Regions from separate parts of the Homo sapiens genome. Here regions 1 and 2 are each linked to region 3. The links are contacts of gene promoters, found by promoter capture Hi-C in blood cells and fetal thymus (Javierre and others, 2016). All regions are on one chromosome and are shown on one strand. Each heading gives the region's core, a stretch centred on a gene start or on the middle of the fragment in contact. The rest is flanking DNA. Distances are from core to core; before and after follow the strand shown.

What was found. Contacts are between HindIII fragments. The CHiCAGO score rates a contact against its expected background, and 5 or more counts as called.
Region 1: a contact is called between the fragment with the promoter of HSP90AB1 here and a fragment that was not itself captured in region 3, in 2 of 17 cell types (monocytes and neutrophils). The highest score is 6.6, in monocytes.
Region 2: a contact is called between the fragment with the promoter of SLC29A1 here and a fragment that was not itself captured in region 3, in 8 of 17 cell types (total CD4 T cells, activated CD4 T cells, naive CD8 T cells and 5 more). The highest score is 7.3, in total CD4 T cells.

The regions. Positions count from the first base shown.
Region 1 is chr6:44,245,685-44,248,384 of GRCh38, forward strand. HSP90AB1 (heat shock protein 90 alpha family class B member 1) reads left to right here and starts at 1,417. Exons shown (of 12, transcript NM_007355.4): 1 at 1,417-1,511. RefSeq lists enhancers at 1-473, 1,228-1,982, 2,467-2,516 and a silencer at 677-916. The HindIII fragment of the contact is 5,727 bases long and covers 1-2,153 here.
Region 2 is chr6:44,222,145-44,224,844 of GRCh38, forward strand. SLC29A1 (solute carrier family 29 member 1 (Augustine blood group)) reads left to right here and starts at 1,451. Exons shown (of 13, transcript NM_001372327.1): 1 at 1,451-1,497. RefSeq lists enhancers at 1,280-2,138, 2,381-2,530 and a silencer at 1,291-1,690. The HindIII fragment of the contact is 15,932 bases long and covers 1-2,700 here.
Region 3 is chr6:43,775,756-43,778,455 of GRCh38, forward strand. It overlaps VEGFA (vascular endothelial growth factor A), which reads left to right. Exons shown (of 8, transcript NM_003376.6): 3 at 1,714-1,910. Among named protein-coding and RNA genes, the nearest start is that of VEGFA, 6.9 kb to the left of the region's middle. The HindIII fragment of the contact is 190 bases long and covers 1,356-1,545 here.

The DNA of each region.
Region 1 (2,700 bases), core at 167-2,666, 470 kb after region 3:
TGGCTGTGGGGAAACTCTTCCCAAGCATCCCAGGGGTGGGCCAGGAAGGGGAGCAGATGGACATCTACAGGGCACAGAGCAGGGAGTGGCTATTCTCTCCTGGAGGGGTTGTGGGTCCAGCAGGCTTTCGGATGAGGCCTTGGAAAGGCAAGGACAGCTTGCCAACTGGAGGGCAGGCAAAACGGCTGAGCCAGGCCAGACACGGCAGCTCACTGGCCAGGGGCATGGCCTAGGGGCTCTGGTGCCAAGGCTGAAGGGGAACAACTTGGCCAGCCGCTCTGTGGCCGGCATCGTCACGCGGCCTCCAAGAGCTCCGGCTGCCCTGCACTGGTTCCCAGAGACTCCCTCCTTCCCAGGTCCAAATGGCTGCAGGAGCGAAGTGGGCGGAAAAAAAGCGAACCAGCTTGAGAAAGGGCTTGACGTGCCTGCGTAGGGAGGGCGCATGTCCCCGTGCTCCGTGTACGTGGCGGCCGCAGGGGCTAGAGGGGGGTCCCCCCCGCAGGTACTCCACTCTCAGTCTGCAAAAGTGTACGCCCGCAGAGCCGCCCCAGGTGCCTGGGTGTTGTGTGATTGACGCGGGGAAGGAGGGGTCAGCCGATCCCTCCCCAACCCTCCATCCCATCCCTGAGGATTGGGCTGGTACCCGCGTCTCTCGGACAGGTCAGAGCGGGTCGCCGGGTGGGGTCGCTGCAAAAACCCTGCCCCGGCCGCAGCCGGAGAGGCGGAGCCTCGCGGGGAGGGGGCGGGACCGCCGAGACAGGCCTGGAAACTGCTGGAAATGCCGCAGTGCCGCCGCCGCGCCTTCCGCCGCATGTCGGCAAAGAGTCCCCGCCAGCCCCGGCCGGCGCCCTCCCCCTACGCTGAGCTGCCCCTCAGCGCGAACCCTCCGCCCTTCCTCTACTCCTGCGAGAGTCGGGATCTGGGGCTACCCAAGGTTGGGTCCCGAATGCCAGTCCCTCTGTCGGGACGCGAGATGTGTAGGGCAGATGCTAGGAAGAAGATTGGGTCTGGGAGCGGTGGTCCGCGTGGTTAGCTGCCTCCGCTCTTTTTCGGTGTCCCCCCCAGTCCCGCCCTTGGGTGTGGGGACGCCTGCCCCACAAGTGTTTAGGGAGGTCAGTGGGTTCCTCGCCCGTAGAGACACCGTTTATGCCAAATGAGCACTCCTCATCCCCGCTCTTGATGGAGTCATGTCCTAGACGTGAAACTATGGGGCTGTGATCACAAGCAAATGTGTGGGCGGATCCGTTGCTTGGGTTCTTCCCCGCCCCCTCTTTTTTTCGGACCATGACGTCAAGGTGGGCTGGTGGCGGCAGGTGCGGGGTTGACAATCATACTCCTTTAAGGCGGAGGGATCTACAGGAGGGCGGCTGTACTGTGCTTCGCCTTATATAGGGCGACTTGGGGCACGCAGTAGCTCTCTCGAGTCACTCCGGCGCAGTGTTGGGACTGTCTGGGTATCGGAAAGCAAGCCTACGTTGCTCACTATTACGTATAATCCTTTTCTTTTCAAGGTAAGGCTGAGATCTCCGCTAGGCTTCTTTCCCTTTAGTGCTGTATTCGTGTTGTTTTTGTTTTTTTCTGTCCTTTAGGGAGCCTTAGTCTAGATGTCGGGGTGGCTTGTGGATAACGCTCTGGATTTTTATAGGGTGAGGGTAGTGGTGGGTGAGGTTTTTTGAGTCCTCCTCGGTTTTCTCTAGTGTGTTTGGGGGGTGGGGCTTTCTCTCGGCGCCTGCTGGCCGTAGCGAGGTGGGCTGTGGGGTTGGGGCAGTGGGCGGCTGGCAGCTGCACGTGGTGGCCGCGCGGCCCGGGACGCTGCCATTTTTGCCCCTCCACTTCCGGACGCGGCTACGGGGCGTCGGAGGGGGACCGCAGGGTGGCGGGGGTGCCCGCTCGGGTGACTCAGCACGGCCTTGTGGGACTGGCTTTGTCACCTCTCTTATCGGACGCGTTGTTAAAGCCTTCTTGGGTGCTTTGTTTCTGTGAGGGAGGGTTGACGGTGTGGGAAGAGAGCTTTCGGTCTCCAGCACCCGATACTCCCTCCTTCCAGATCTTTCTTGCAGTCCCGGTGGAGGAGGGGCGGGGAGGGGAGCAGGTTCTGGAAGATTCATGGGCTCCTTCCTCCGCCCTTCCTCGAGAGCTGAGATTGTTCTGGAAGCTTCTGGATTCTGGCGCCCCGCCCCAGTGCCCGGATGCTGGGGCGAGGGAGGGTGCACTGCGGCGCCCCCTCCTCGCGTGGTCCTGGCCGACGCATGTCCGGCAGTGACGAGTGTCGGCCTGGTGGCTACGGCCACCATCTTTCTTGGGTTTGGTCCTGTTCTGTAATTTTGTGCTGTGAAAGGGTCGTGGTGGAGCTTTTGGCTTAAGAATTCTTTGTCCGGATTTAATTGCTCCTCCGGTGGGTATCGTATGGATCCCAGGTTATTCCTCCCTGCCCTATGGGGCAGGAGTGTCCCGCCCTTGGACTGGTCTTAGGAACTGACACCTCAGGGGGAGCAGTTTAAAGTTAGTGCCATTTTTATCTTAAACTAGTCACTTTGATCTCCCCCAAATAAAGAACTGTAGGTAGTGATTTTCACATTTAAATTTGTGTAAGGATTACTTGGGATCTCTAGATACCTGGGTTGGACCAACATTATGATTTTTCTGCCATACTACCAGATGATGCTGAGGCTGCTGGTCACCATTCTTTAAGTAGGTGGG
Region 2 (2,700 bases), core at 201-2,700, 450 kb after region 3:
ATTAGGGGGTTGTGGACAGACATGAAGCCACTCTCAAGTCATGGGGCTGTGCCTGGAAAAATACCACCTAAACCCATCTTCCTGCCCTCTGGTTAGGGCTGGCGGGGATGTGGGGGATGGGGGTGGGGTGGGGGAGGGTTGGGAAGGAATATGTGTGTCATCTCTGTGGGGCATGGAAACAGAAGGCTGGGGACACCCATTCTGGAGTAGCTTGGGGAGAGCCACTGACCCTAATTAGAAAAGCCACCTCTCTCCTTAGGGCCCTGTCTGTTTCTCTGGGGACAGGGTAGGACTACCTTATCCCTATGATGTGAGGTACTGCCAGTTGTTAATCAGTGTCTGTGGCTTCTCTAGGGGACAAGCCCTTCGGGTCAGTGGGCATGGGGTGGGCAGCGTGGGTTGGATTTTCTCCTCAGGACCTTTCCAGCCTTAGGATCATCCTCTAGCACTGAGTACTGCTGGAAGGGCAGGGAGTGCCCCCCACCCCACCCCATTTATTGCCCGACCAAAGAGAGGGCCTCCCTCCCCCTCCCTTGGAGGGACTTGCTGGACCACCCCTCAGCACGCCCACACCTTCCTCCTTAGCTAGTGAAAGACATACTCAGCAAGGCTTCCGCCTGTCAGGATGGCTGGGACAATAGGATTCACTGAGGATATAAGGCTGTTCCTAGCTTTTTCTCTTCCCATTCCCACCTGTGCCTCAGTTTTCCAAAGTGCTGGATTTAGAAAGGGTGAATTATGAGGGAGCTGGAGGGCTTTGCCCCACCCCCCTCCGCGCGCACACGCAAGCACAGGCAGAGGCACATACCCCCTCCAAGTCAAAGTTGTGAGTGGGGTGGTGTTTGCGCGTCTGTGGCTGGGACTGGATGTGTCAGGGATGGGAAAACCCATCATGCTGGTCACAGAAAATGCGCGGTGGGGACAGAAGCAGTTTTGAAGGAAAAGAAGAGGAGGGGGACTGAAAGAAAGAAGGGGGCGCTGAAAGGGAGGGCGCTGGGAGGAAAAAGGTGCAGTGTGGAGGAAGCGCGGCGTGGGCAGGGCTTGGGAAGGGATAACGGAATATCTGAGGTGGAGTGGGCCGTGGAGCGTCGGGGCCGGTCTGAGCAGCGGGTGTGTAAATGGAACAGTCCCGAGATGAATTTTATGGGAGTCTGCGCAGGTCCTTAATGTGTGGCTGTACCCTCCAGCCCCATGTACCCCACACGATGGACAGACAGCCTTGGTGTGGCAGGGCCCAAAGAGGTCCTATCTACCGCAATAACACGACCAGGCGGCCCTGGGGGCGCAGGGGCTCGGGGTGGGAGCGGCGGAGCGCGCGGAGTCGCCGCGGGGTGGCAGGGGTGGGCCGGGGGCGGGGCCGCGGGCGTCGGGGAGGTGGCAGTGGGCGCAGGGCGGGGCGAGCTCAGCGGAGGGCGGGTTTGAATGTGCCCCGGCGGGAGAGGGAAGCTGCAGCGAGAGCGCGCGGATCTCAGCGCGGGAGCAGTGCTTCTGCGGCAGGTGCTGCCCGGGGCCGGGGACTGGGGACTGGGGACTGCCGGGGCGGAAGACGCCGCTGCCCGCCTGCCACGGAGGGCAGGGAGGGCGGGCCTGACGGCTCCGCAGCCCGGAGAAGGGACGCCGGGTGGGGCCCCAGTGCGGAGCGTGCGGAGCCGCGCAGCACGTGGCGCGCACGGGCCAGGGAGCCTGAGGACCCTGCGGGGACCGGGACCCAAGCTGGGCGGGGCGGCCTGGCTCCCGGGCCTAAAACAGGCTGCGGTCACGTTGACCTCCGCAAGGGGCAGGCGAGTGGACGGGTGATCCCCATCGATCTGGTCGGTATCAGGGAGGGGCCGTGCCGCTGACTGCGCTGGCGGAGGGGTATGGGGATGGGGATGGGGATGGAGGCTCGCGAGCGGAGGTGCAGGCTCGCGAGCGGAGGTGCGGGGCTGTCTCTTTAACCCCGGTCTTTTACTGGCTAAACTCGTATCCCTGGCGTCTCCTTCCTGCGCACGTCTTCATTTACTGATTTACTGTGAGGGTATATGAGAGGGTGAAGACAAACAGTCCTCGGCTTTGCTTACCAGGAGAGAGCAGTCGTAGGTCAAGGCTGGCTCCAACCCTGCCCTCACACCTCTAGGGGTCTCTCTGCAGCCCTGTGGTAGTCCCTTTGCCTACTCCTCTCGGTGGCCTCCAGACCCTCCAACTTTCCTCCTGCTTGTGTAAGCTCCCCATGCCAGGATGTGTGTGATGGGGCGGGGCTGAGCTGCCTGACACTCAAGTCAGGCTGGGAATGATCTTGGTCTCCACCTCATTTTTCCCTTTAGTTGAATCAGAGTTCCCCCCACCTCCCAGTCTACAGGGCTAACTGAGAAGCAGCTTTTATACCTCTCTCCATTCCAAAAGGAGCTTGAACATTTAATATGGATTCTAGCTCCTCCACTCACCAGCTCTGTGACTTCAGGCAAGTGACTCAACCCCTCTGAACCTCAGCTGGCCCCATCTATTCAGTGCTAGTACTAGCTTATGGGTGGTTGTGAAGAAAAGACAAGAGATCTGCAGGTAGTGGCTAGCCCCATATGAAATCCTGGGAGTGGAGAATTGCAGGAGAGGTGTTGGGAGTCTGGAGGCAGGGAGGTACTCAATTTGGTGGCTACTTTCAGGGGCCCACCTCAGCAGGCCAAGGCATAGTTGGAGGGACACCAGATGCTCTGAGCTGGTATC
Region 3 (2,700 bases), core at 201-2,700:
TTGCCGTAACCCTTCGTGGGTAGAGAAGGATTCTGTGCCCATTGGTGGTCTGGATAAAAGAAATAGAGACCTCACAGGAAGCAGTGGACTGGCCTGTTTCCCCACTGTTCTTTCTGTTTTCACACCTGTGGCCTTCTCCCCACCTTCTTCCCAATCAACCTATTGTGTACATAGCCCCCCTCATTGTCCTTTATTCTTCTGGAAAGCAGACCTTGGAGGGAGGAGTGAGGGGGAGGCTCAGCTGTGGTCTCTGGGGGGTGGGGGTTGGGAGCTGGGGTGGAAGTCCACGAAGCATACACTTAAGATGCTTTGGTGAAGTTCTAAACTTCATATTACCCAGGCTGAAAAAAGAGCACTTGTTCCTAGGGCTGGAAATGGAAGCCAAAACACCACCTTTTTCAGCCTGTTTCAGCATCTTTAGAGATCAGCCCAACCCACTTACACAGTTGAGCAGAGTTGGAGGCCTAGAGAGGGGAGGGACTGGCCCAAGGTCATACCAACTCATGGCCAGAGCCTGGGCCTCCTCACTGGCCAGGTGTTATTTCTTCCCTCTGGGTAGGGAACCTATTTCAGGGACAGGATTGCTATGTGGTAGTGGTGGTGGGGTGCGATAGGCGTGGCAGGCTGGGCCACAATTTGGAGTAGTCATGCCAGAGTCCTGCATTTATTTATTCTCAAGGGCCCCGCCTCTGTGGCCCAGAATTACCCCTTCATGCTCCAGTGCACCCCAGGCTTCGTGGCCAGCCTGGGAAACTGTCTCTACCCTGGTCTCCCTTCAGATCAGCTTCTAGAAATGTTTCGTGGCTACAGTGGCAGCACTGTTTTTTCCATGATGCAAGCAGTTTGCCCTCTTGGGCGGGGTTATCAGTGGCTGGCAGGGCTGGCACAGCGTGTCCGCCCACTGCCACCTGTGGGTTCCAGGAGGGCCCAGCCCCTGTGCTGATGCCCACCACCTTCTCAGCTCATGTCTGGGGAAGAGGACTGGCAGGGGGAAAGGTGCCTCCTCCTGAAAGGTGCCTCCTCTGTTTTTGCCTAATATAGGCTTGGGAACACTTTGATGTCAGCTAATTCTGACTCCTTTACTTACTAGCTGTGCGGCCTTGGGGCAACTTACTTAGCCTCTTTGAGCCTCCTGTTCCCCATCTGTAAAATGGAATCTCAATAGTGTCTAATAGTACCATGTGGAGAAACTTGTGTGAAATGATAGCTGTGGACTACTGTACACAGTACTCAGGATGTAGTAAGTGCTCAATAAACAGCTGTTGGTATGGTTGACGTTATGGTAGTGGTTGTGGGGAGGACGTAGGAAACTGGAGACTAGCTTGGCAAAGCTGGCTCTTCCTCCTTTTAGGGAAAGCTTAGAGCATCCCCATGGGGTATACCCATACTCAGACTGTCCTCTGGCATCGAGGTTGGCCCAGGATTCAGTTCAGCTGTCACAGTGAGGTGGCGGGATCAGATGTGGCAGGCCATGTCCCTTGGAACTTGAGTACATCGTGTGATCTCTGGAATGAAAACAGGCCTTCACCAGTGTTGATGGTGGAAAGCTTAGGGAAGTGCTTCAAACACAGTAGGAGGGACTTACGTTAGATTTTGGAAGGACTTGCCTGATTCGGAAGCTCCAAAGAGTGGCATTACAGAGCTGGGTGGAGAGAGGGGCTAGCCATCTTTTGTGTCGCCCACCGGGCTCATGTGTCATCGCCTCTCATGCAGTGGTGAAGTTCATGGATGTCTATCAGCGCAGCTACTGCCATCCAATCGAGACCCTGGTGGACATCTTCCAGGAGTACCCTGATGAGATCGAGTACATCTTCAAGCCATCCTGTGTGCCCCTGATGCGATGCGGGGGCTGCTGCAATGACGAGGGCCTGGAGTGTGTGCCCACTGAGGAGTCCAACATCACCATGCAGGTGGGCATCTTTGGGAAGTGGGGCAAGGGGGGGATAGGGAGGGGGGTAACACTTTGGGAACAGGTGGTCCCAGGTCGTTTCCTGGCTAGATTTGCCTTGTCTGGCTCCTGCCCCTGAGTTGCACAGGGGAGGTATGGTGGGGTCTTGCCTTCTGTGGAGAAGATGCTTCATTCCCAGCCCAGGTTCCCAGCAAGCCCCAACCATCTCCTTCTCCCTGATGGTTGCCCATGGGCTCAGGAGGGGACAGATGGATGCCTGTGTCAGGAGCCCCTCTCTCCCTCTCTTGGAGAGAGTCCTGAGTGCCCCCCCTTCTTGGGGGCTTTGTTTGGGAAGCTGGATGAGCCTGGTCCATGGAGAGTTTAAAAAGTCTTTTGGTGTTACCTGGTAATGGGGCACATCTCAGCCCAGATAGGGTGGGAGGGAGCTGTGAAACACAGGGAGGGGGTTGCTTTCGGGTATCTACTAGGAGTCAGGGTGAAGCCTAGAGAGGATGAAAGAAGGGGAGGGGATGGGGAGTGGTAAGAACCTAGGATTTGAATTCCCAGCCTGGCCAACCCTTGCAGCCATGTCTTGGCCTCAAGTGGAACAAGGGCTCCTTGAGGCCAGCAGGGTTGGGGGAGTTGGGGTGGGCCTGAGCCTCTTTCCTGCTAGAGCTCTTGGTCCTCCCTGCCTCCACCACCCATCCCTGCTCTGCAGAACCCCTGGGTGCTGAGTGGCAGGAGCCCCAGGGTTGTCCCATCTGGGTATGGCTGGCTGGGTCACTAACCTCTGTGATCTGCTTCCTTCCTTT